Linked DNA regions of Homo sapiens: region 1 is linked to region 2. Evidence: promoter capture Hi-C in 16 types of primary human blood cells and fetal thymus (Javierre and others, 2016). All regions are on one chromosome and are shown on one strand. The core of a region is centred on a gene start or on the middle of the fragment in contact, and the rest is flanking DNA. Distances in the headings are between cores, read along the strand shown.

What was found. The method cuts DNA at HindIII sites, captures the fragments that hold promoters and counts their contacts. A CHiCAGO score of 5 or more calls a contact.
Region 1: a contact is called between a fragment that was not itself captured here and the fragment with the promoter of NDUFB6 in region 2, in 1 of 17 cell types (M2 macrophages). The highest score is 5.2, in M2 macrophages.

Annotation. Positions count from the first base shown.
Region 1 is chr9:32,872,471-32,877,798 of GRCh38, forward strand. No RefSeq gene overlaps it. Among named protein-coding and RNA genes, the nearest start is that of TMEM215, 92 kb to the left of the region's middle. The HindIII fragment of the contact is 1,275 bases long and covers 723-1,997 here.
Region 2 is chr9:32,571,388-32,576,607 of GRCh38, forward strand. It overlaps NDUFB6 (NADH:ubiquinone oxidoreductase subunit B6), which reads right to left and starts at 1,772. Exons shown (of 4, transcript NM_002493.5): 1 at 1,494-1,772. The coding sequence starts at 1,673. RefSeq lists enhancers at 1,320-1,859, 2,130-2,179. The HindIII fragment of the contact is 6,496 bases long and covers 632-5,220 here.

The sequences.
Region 1 (5,328 bases), core at 110-2,609, 300 kb after region 2:
CTCCATAGCAGATTTAAATCACACCCAAAACTGTCCATTTGAGTTACGAGTATTTGTCTTTTTCTTTGTGTTTTAGGCATTTTCTTGAGACACTGGGTAAAGATGGGAGGCTGCTAAATAGAGGCCATTTAAACCACTTTAATTGTTATTTCAATGGGGAGTTGGAAGGAAGTATGTTGGGTACACTGCTAGGTAATCTACCACTGCGTGACCCACAAATGCAGACATTGTCTAAGTTACATTTGCACGACTTTTAACTAGCACTGGGAAAAGCCTGGCTTAAGAGTAAAAGAAAGGCCTAGAATCCAACAGACCTGGGTTCTAATCCTGACTCCACTTAATACTATTTGAAAACCCTGGGCAAGTTTATTTCCCAGCTCTGTGCCTCGGTTTCCTTGAATAGAATGTTAGGAAACTAAAACTTACCTTGTAGGATTCAAGAATAAGAGATAATGCATAGAAAGGACCTTGTACAATAGTTGGCACAAAGTAGGTACCTAATGAAAAGCCAGTTATTAATGCCTCCAAGAATATGAATGGTCTGTATGTCCATATCATTTCTAGCTTAAGAACTCACCCAAAAAAAGTAAAAGGATAAGAGCTCTGTTGAGTGGAGAAAAAAGATTCTAGATGATTCTCTTAGTTTACAGAATTTCTGCCTAGGAAATCAAATTCTTGCCTCTGGCTTGAAGGGCATCCAAGAGCCCACTCACTGCAGCTCAAGCTTGGCACAGTCGTAGGAACATCTCCCCTGCCCTGCACTGAACACACTCCTCAGGAACCAGCCTACGAGCTTACTTTGGGTGAAGTGCCGCTTCCTAGAAGCCAAGAGCAGCCATGCAGATGCTGCCCCCGGTGCCCCTGCTGGCATGGGAATCCTTGGCCACTGTCAACCCGCTGCCCAGGCTCCCCTCCACAGTCCACCGAACCACATCTGAGTGGAAGAAACAAAACAGCCCACATCAGTGTGTGCAGCCAACAAACGGAGCAAGCTGATCAGCAGATATCACTGAAAAAACCCCTCATAATAATAATGGCTGCCGTGCATGTGCCAGACACCCCCACCTGGCACTTTTCACGTGTCTTCTTGTTTAATTATCACAATAACCCTATGAGATGGGTATTGGTACTGTATCATCATTTTACATAGGAGGAAATGAGGTTCAGAGAAATTCAAAGTAGCTTCTCCAACATCCCATAGCTGATAAGAGTCAGAGATAAGATTACAACCCAGATCTGTTTGACTCCAGCGCTCAAACTCATTCCACCATACATGCTGGCTGTCCCAAGAGCCCACGTACAGAGTTCTCTGCTTGGGATTCAGAATCTGACTCATAGTCTCTGACCTAAAAGGAACGTTTGAGAATCTCAGTTATTACAGTATGTTCTCCAAGCCCACTCTTGTACACTCTGCCTTGTGATACTGGGGATGGGACCCTGCACAGCCCATTTCTCCTTTGCCAGCTGCTCTCTTGAGGTGTTTTCTAGGGGTGGGGAGTCCTAAAGGGATACCTAAAGGAGGGAGACGCCATCGGCTACTTCCTGCCTGCTTCCCATTTAGGTCAGCATGGCCCCAGAAAGGTTTCTTCTTTAGAACTCCTATAGCAGTCTGTTGCCACAGCACAGGGATTCTGATTGCAGTTTTCTCAGCACCAGCCATGTTGTACCACTCTCCTTCCCCCTCCCCAGAGGCATCAGGACCCACCTGAGCTAAGAGGTGCATCCCCTTCTCCAAGTTTCTGAGTTTTAATAGTCACAACTTCTTCACTCTGTTCCCAGCCCCTGCAGCTGTTTCCTCTGTGGCTCCTTTGTGCTCCCTGATTGCCTTTCCAGTTCTTTAATTCCTGGTTAATAATGAATTGTATCAACTTCTCTTTTAAAACAATGGGCATGGCTTGTCTCCTGACTGGACTCCATTTTACACAAAGAATCATCGTCTGCTCTAATGCCTTTCAAATGAGGAGACTGAGGCCCAGAGAAGTTAAGTGACATGCTTAAGCTTGCACGCTCAGTAAGAATATAAAATAATGTTGCTACGATTTGTCCTCTTAGAATGTGCTATAACACCATGAGGTACATACCACCATCCCTATCCCTACCCACACCCTCTTAGAATGTGCTATAACCCAGTTACATACATACCATCATCCAAATAAAACAAATGCAGAAATTGAGGCTCAAACATCATGTGATTTCCCTAATGTCACCCCTTAATGAGTAATAGAGGTACAATTTGAACTGAATTAGCCTAACTGTGAAACCAGGGCTCTTAACCACTATTCCATACTCAGTGTGTTATCTCCCCATCCCTCTGGACTGGATAAATGTCTCTGCATCTTCAAGGGCTGGTGGAGCTCCTAGCTGTGGTTTCTCGCTCTCCTAGAACTGCTCACTCTTGAAGCCAGTAATCTTTTCTTAGCACTACTGGCACAGAATATAAAATCTAAATATTGTCCATCTACTAACATTTCTTTAACCAAGTCCCCAAACCAAAGGGAAGAAAGCAGCTATCTTTTACATGATATTATTGTCTCCCAAGCTATCTGGGAATCTTCAGGATGATTAAAGTCCCTCTCTAGCCAGTTGCAATGACTCTAAGTCCTAGATGATTCACAGAAAAAAAAAAAGGGGGATGGGGGTGGGGAGGACTACTTGGCAATTAGGAAGGAGTAGGATCACAGTTATGAAAGCTATAAATATCTTTCACATGTCTTCTGTAGACTGGGCTGCAAAATAAGAAAGTTCCAATATCCTATTTATTAGTTATCAAAAAGCACAAAGTTGCACTTCAAACATATCAATAAGTCTCTCTCTATTACCTCTTGACAGGTAGAGCCCAATTAGGAGCTTCCAAGAAGCTGGGTTTGGAGTCCAGCTACTTCCTGACTGAGAGCTCTGCTGAACACTGCAGCCAGTTAATCACAGGAGGAGACTGGATGGCTCCCATGTCAGGCATGCTGCAGGGCCATGGCAGGAGGAAGAGCTGCTTGCTGTCTACTAATGAGCCAACCTGGATGCCCAGCAGGCTCTGCTGGGCTCAATGCCCTTGTTTGTAGGAAGTATCCTCAGGATTCATCTTAGTTGCAGCCCAGAATGGAGGTTAAGTCAGGAGCCATCAGAGAATGTAGGAGGCCTTACCACCATGCGAGGGTTGAGCCTACCTACCAATCCAGGAGTAGAGAAAAAGACATCGGCCTTTTCAGGCATCCTGAGCTTTTGTGGGCAGCTCCGTTGAAGCTCTTGAAAGCTCTGCTGCTTTCATTTAGTAACTATTTATGGACTGCTAACTAGGTACCAGGCACTGACAGTATTACTCTGTTCAAGTCAATAAACATTTCCTGAGTATCTATATGTACAAGCACTTCACCAGGAAGAAAGGACTTACACCTAAAAAAGGTGGCCTTCCAGACTCGTGTGACTTCCTGCTCATCTCAGCACCCTGGGTGTCACGGGTTTTCTCAGTGCCCCACAGCAGGAAGCAGTCCAATTTACTAGAAAGAGCAACAGACAAGGAGCCAAAGTTTATGTCTGGGCTCTGCCACTCACCCCCTGCACGATTTAGGCAAGTCACTGAACCATCCCACCTCAGTAGTTTCATGTGCAAAAAGCAATCTGACAGGCTAAGATCCAACAAGACAAATCTAAGGATGATTATTATTGAAATTTATGGGTGGAGGGAAAAGAAAACAGGTATTTCCACCCTATTTAATTTAAACGTTATATCAGACAAATGAAATTCCCTGTGACTATTAAGAAAGACTGGCTAGGCATGGTGGCTTACGCCTGTAATCCCAGCAATTCGGGAGGCCAAGGCGGGCGGATCACCTGAGGTCAGGAGTTTGAGGCCAGCCTGACCAACATGGAGAAACCCCGTCTCCACTAAAAATACAAAATTAGCTGGGCGTGGCGGCACATGCCTCTAATCCCAGCTACTCGGGAGGCTGAGGCAGGAGAATTACTTGAACCTGGGAGGCAGAGGTTGCAGTGAGCCGAGATCGCACCATTGCACTCCAGCCTGGGCAACAAGAGCGAAACTCCGTCTCAAAAGAAAAAAAAAAGAAAAGAAAAGAAAAGAAAGACATGGGGAAAACTGAAACACAAAATCAGCCCCAGGAAAACGTGGCCATAGATAGATGGATAGGTTTATTTTCAGGGCTACTCCAGTTAATTTTTTTGGCATCCACCTCATTCAGTGCCCAAACACGAAATGCAGCTCCTACCCTCACCCCCTCCAGAATCACTGGATCCCAACCATGGGAGGGCCGGCGAGCCCATCTCATTCAGTCTTCTGCACCCACAGGACGCCCAGGCACCAACATCCCGGAAGAGGCCTTCCAGTCTTCACTTGAATACATTCAAAGGTGAGGTGCTCATTGTTTGGTAATATAACATTCCATTTTTCCCAGCTCTGATGAGTAGAAAACATGAAATCCAAAACCATCCATTGGTCCTTGTCCAGCCCCCGTGATGCTACCTGAACTCATCTAACCAACCTTCTCCAAGGCAGCCTTTGACCCAGTCCCTCATTCTCCTCTCCTTTATAATAACTCCTTTAAACAGCTTTGGGTTTCGGGGTGGGGTGGGGGGCGCATGCTGTTAATAGGACCCAACCCTGACATTACTTGTGTCCTATTAACAGAAATGAGTTCCTCCTCCTACTTATTCAGAAGTTGACATTAGGCATAAAAAGATAGGCATGACCTTTTCAGCCAGACCCTAGGGAACAGATTCTAAAAATATCTCTATGTCCGCAGGCATCATGGCCAGAGCCAACACTATGAATAACCCTCTATGCTCCCTGGAGACTCAGGAGACAAGAAGAGACCTGCAGGCCAGTTTGCATGTCAGGGTGCAGGGGGAGTCATCGGCCAGGACTGGCCTTTGTGTTCTAACAGCTGAGGCATGGCCCAGGGCAATGAAGGCCCCATCCATCCCTGAGTCATGAGGTGGCCCAGAGGAGAAGATGAGAGGATTAGGAGAATAGGGGGCTTTGTTATTAGTATAATCGTAATAATTTCCCTCAATATTTGAGAATTATAAGCAAGGACTTGGACTCAAATTAACTTAGGATTAGACTCAAATAATATTGTAGTATATTGATTAAAATATCATATCTGGCTATACTAAGCCCAGGTCACTGGGTAGTAGAAGGGCTTAATCCCACAAGTTCTATCACTTAATAATAACAAGAATAACTAACATTTATTGAGCCAGTCACTGCTTTAGTTACAGCTTAGTTATAGTATCTCCACAACAACCCTATGAAGAAGTATATAATAACTCAGGGATGCACGGGATCTCCATTGCCCTGGGCCATGCCCCAGCTGT
Region 2 (5,220 bases), core at 522-3,021:
TTAATGTATTTAACCAGAGTAATCAAACCTACAGAATTTTTCAGGTATAGTCATCTCCCTTATTTATTGATCAATGACACTCACATCATTTTAGGTATAAGGCAGACAACCTTGACAACGCCAATGCTGGAAAAAGGACGTTTTACATACTAAGATGGGGTGTCCCAAACTCACTCCAAAATGCCCTCTGCAACACTATTTTAAAAAAGAACTAAAAATGGAACTTTCCCATGTCTTCCAACTTGATTAAAAAACACCTATCCATTCAAGGAAGGGACAATCCAGAATCTAAGAATTATAACAGATATGATTATAAAAGAATAAATTAAAGTAAGGTAAGGTGAACTTCGACACATTATTATTTATTTACTTCCTTATATCACTTGCTGATGGATGGGATGTCAACTTTAAATCAGTGACTGCCAATATTCCGATAATGTCAGGGATACAAAGGGTGGGAGAAGAGTTGAATTTTACCACCATAAATAAGTATCCAATATCACTTTCTCAGAAAAATTTTCAACAATTCTATTGCACTAGACTTTGTAGCACAGTAAGAATCAGATACATGTTGATTACAATATGAACTCATATTCAATTCCTAGCTCCCTGACCACCAGCAAATCACTGAAGCTTTGTAGGCCTCAGTTTCTTCACATTTAAAATGAGGATTAGGAATATCTACCTTACAGGAATAAAGAAATGAAGTAACACATGTAAAACCCCCAGTAGAGTGCCAAGCACACAGCAAGCACCCGTGTGTTACGTAGTATTGTTACTACTATTATCCTGTCATCAGTAAGTGTTGCAGGTAACTGAAAGCAATTCTGAGATGTTTATCATCCATAACAGTCCTCAAGAAAATACCCAGAGGCCTTGAAAATAAAGTTCTTGAATGAGTGATTTTCTTCAAAGCCCAAAATGCGATTTTTTTAATGAAACACTGTGTTAAAAGTACAGAACGGTAGTTTAGAAAGGTAGCTCTTGAATGTGACTCACAAGGCATACCAACAGGACCCTGTCTTTTACGGGGATCACATGGGGCTGTACTATCAGCTAGGGGCTGGCTGTGCCCTCTGGTGGTTGGATACTGTGTTACTTGGTCTCTAGAACCTCACACTTAAAAGTCAGACAAGTGTCCTCAAATACTTAAATCACAGAATTTTAATTCTAGCGAGTCCTTGGTTATTATTCTGAGGGAAGATTTCTACAGTCAAAAGAGAACCAAACGTGCAGCGTCCTGGAAAACCTAAGTATTAAAATTCGCCCCCGTCCACTGTACTTGACAGTAAAAGGCATGATTCTCTCAAAGCCATACATATTCCTGGACTCCTGCCTCCCGAGACTCCAGGAGGACTCTCGGGACTGGCCAGTGTCCCAGAGCACTGAGCGTTATCAGTCCTTGGTGTGGCTGCAGGGAGCGGACGTTCAGTGTTCAGGCTGCCGGCAGCAGTGGGATGTGTTGGGGGGGACCGGAGAGGTCTGTCACTCACCATTTTCCTCCAAGGGGATTTATTCTCCAAAAATTTATTCCAGAATTTCTCCATAGGCCCCATCTTCTGTGGGGGCAGCACCGGCTCCCGAGGGCTCAGCTCCTGGTCCTTCAGCCATCGCCTTCTCAGCTCTCGCAGCTGCTGCAGCCGCAGTTTCTCATCCGGAGTGTACCCCGTCATGTCGCCGCTGGTACCAACGCAAAAGGACACGGCGCACCCTCGAACTACGGACTAGTTACTTAAGCGCGCTCCCGCTCTGCAAAGCGACCTTGCGGGAACGCCGAGCGCCGCGCGCGGTTATTACGTCACATCCTGGTTCCGCCTCTGCAAGGGCCCCAGATTCCTCGCGAGGAAAGCAGTGTGTGGGCATGCACAAAGGTCTCCACCTCCAGTTCTCTCTACGCCCACCTCCGCTATACCCGACCAAATTAGGACCGGGTGGGGACAAGGAGTACTCGTAGTTGTGGGGCCTGAGGAAAGTGACAGATTAGACGAAAGTATGCTAAATTAGAGGACTGGAGGTTTTGCTAAGGAAGAACTTGTATGCTGGGAGGAGGAAGGATAAGCATAAATGTTTCAGTGAATATGCTGGCCAGATTCAAAATTATTTGCTTGCCTCTCCCACCTTGGAATGACCTAGAGAGTGTATGAAAATAGTTACATCCCAGTTCAAATCCCAGCTATGCCAGTAACTGCTGAAGTGCCCTGGGCAGCTGTCTCATCTGTCCCTCCATCTGTACAGGAATAGTGAAAAGAGTAGCTTAATATCTAGCAAAATTGCATAGATGAATTCATGCTTTCACCCAAAAATACGTGTGGTGAAAATATGAAAGAGCATGCACGACTATTCAGCACGATTCATAATACCAAAATATTGGAAATTACCCCCAAATTCCTAAATAAAGGACTGCTTGAATAAATTGTAGTACAACAGTCAAAAGACAGCATTACAACGAATTAGTTTAAAAATCTTAATTGACTCTTATTCGTGATTCTAGAATCAAAAAACACCTCATTCTATAAAGTAGAATGAGTGTTCTGATCAGCTGAGCAGAGGCGGTTGGTTTTATTGGCAAATAGGGGCTGAAGAAAGCAGAAACCGAACAAAAAGTGGACTCATCGTTTCAAAGTTACTTTTAGGGTTAAAGCAGAAGAAACTTCCTTGTTTCACTGACTCAGACTTAAGGGAATTTCCTATTTTTTGGGAAACTGGCCCATTTCAAAGTTCAGTTTGATTGTGTGGTACTTAGCACAAACGACTCCATTCTGGTTTGGTCTGGTCTGCTGGGGCCTAGTGCGTGAAGCTAGTCCAAAACAGTGGCTTCCCAAAAACTTTCACACAACAAAGCAATGAAATGCTAATACAATCGTCAAAAGTAATAAGGAAGAACTCTATATACATCTGTGGTGTGATCTCCAGAATACATTACAAAGTGGAAAAAAAATGGATAGGAATTTGTACAGTATGCTTTTACCCAAAAAGAGAAAGATGGTGGTAATTTCAATATATATACATATTTTCTTAAATTTTCAAAATAATGGGAATGAAAACAATTGAGGTTTTTAAAGATGCTACCTATGGTGGAGGAAATAAATAGGATAGAGGAGACAGGGATAGAATCTAGACATCTCTGGAAACATCTTACTTCATAAATTTGACTTTAGAACCAAGTAAATATTTCATATTGTGAAATTAAATTTAGCTTAAAGATGTCTCCGTATTTTGAGTCCTTATATAATGAACTGCAACCCAACTTAGTATGCAATTTAACTCACAGCCTAACTTAGGAATATACTTCTGTAACAAATAACTGAGTCTCAGCCAATCATCACAGGTGGTCAACTGATCAGCCCATGTTCAAATAAGGCAAAGGCCAACCTGTAGCCAATCAAGCTGTTTCTGTATCTCATTTCTGTTTTTTTTCTATGCGTGCTGCCTGGCCTCTTTGTGGAACGATACTTTCTGAACCTCCTCTGGTTCTGAGGGCTGCCTGATTCTCAAATTGGTCATTGCTCAATTAATTTCTGCTAAATTTAATTTTTCTAAAGTTTTAATTTTAACAATATCATTACAAAACAAAATTAAATTTACAAAAAGCAGTCCATAAAAATCAAGTAAAAACCAGTAGCTCTTAATTGGTCCACTTGGTGGCATAATCTCAAAGGTACACATCATTCTAAATACAATAGCCCTTGTAACAACGCTAGGGTTAGTAGTGCCAATCCCCTCCACTTGGCACAATCAAACATCCACATATAACTTTGGACTCTCCAAAAACTTAATAGCCTACTCTTGACCAGAAGTTTTACTGATAACATACAGTCAATTAACACACATTTTGTATATGTATTATATGCTATATTATTACAATAAAGTAAGCCAGAGAAAATAAACTGTTATTAAGAAAATCATAAGGAGGCAAAGAGAGGGGTTGGTCTTGCTGTCTTGGGGTGCCAGAGGCAGAAGAAAATCCACGTATGATGGACCCTCGAAGTTCAACCTGTTTTTTTCAAGGATCAACTATAACTTTAAACCATTGAATTATTGTAAATCCACTGAGAGACAACCCGCAAAAACAAACAAAAAAAAAACAACTTAAAAAAAATCTTGGCCAGGCGTGGTGGCTCACGCCTGTAATCCCAGCACTTTGGGAGGCCAAGGCGGGTGGATCACAAGGTCAGGAGATCGAGACCTTCCTAGCTAACACAGTGAAACCCCGTCTCTACTAAAAATACAAAAATTAGCCAGGTGTGGTGGCAGGCGCCTGTAGTCCTAGCTACTCGGGAGGCTGAGGCAGGAGAATGGCATGAACCTGGGAGGCGGAGCTTGCAGTGAGCCGAGATCGCGCCACTGCACTCCAGCCTGGGTGACAGAGAGAGGCTCCGTCTCAAAAAAAAAAAAAAAAAATCTTAAACTGTTTTAAATAATCATATTGAGGATAGTGGTGTTGATCATGGTATTGTTAATCTGACACTGAAAATAACTGTTTACGTGAGTGTTGTAAAAACTGATCTTTTTTGGTATGGGGAGACATGTATATAAATTGTATGTGTTTAAGTAAAAATCCTATAGTCAAATTGTGAACAGGAAGAATCAGTATGAACTCATATTGTATTTTATCTTTAAAAATGTATATAATTTTGTCTTAGCTCTACCTGTTGATAATGGCCTAAAAGAAATTGGCAAACCAATAATCATGAGCATCTTTTGTTCTTAGGTTGTGATCTCTCATGTACATTTTCCACTGAAAGGAACTAGGACTGCTTGAAGCAGCAGTTCTCAAAAGTTTTGCTTCCAAGACTTCTTCAAATTCTTAAAAATTGTTGGAGATCCCAAAGAGCTTTTGTTTATGTGGGTTAATCTATTGATGTTTACTGCATTAGAAATTAAACATTTTAAAGTAACAATGTACTCATTAAAAAATTAGTGAGAAGAGTGCCATTGTTTTACATTTTTGTAAATGTCTTTAATGTCTTGCTTCATAAATGACAGCAGAATTGTTATAACTGCTTCTGCATTCAATCATAATGTAACACATCGTATAGCCTCTGAAAATCCCCATGTATATTTGTGAGAGAATGAGACTTTATAAGGGTAAAATAAAAAGGGCAAACAGTCAGTCATCTGTATCTGTGGGTTCCACAATTACATATTCAGCCAACCACAGATAGAAACTATTCAGGAAAAAAAACAATAAAAAGTAATATGAATTTTAAACAATACAGC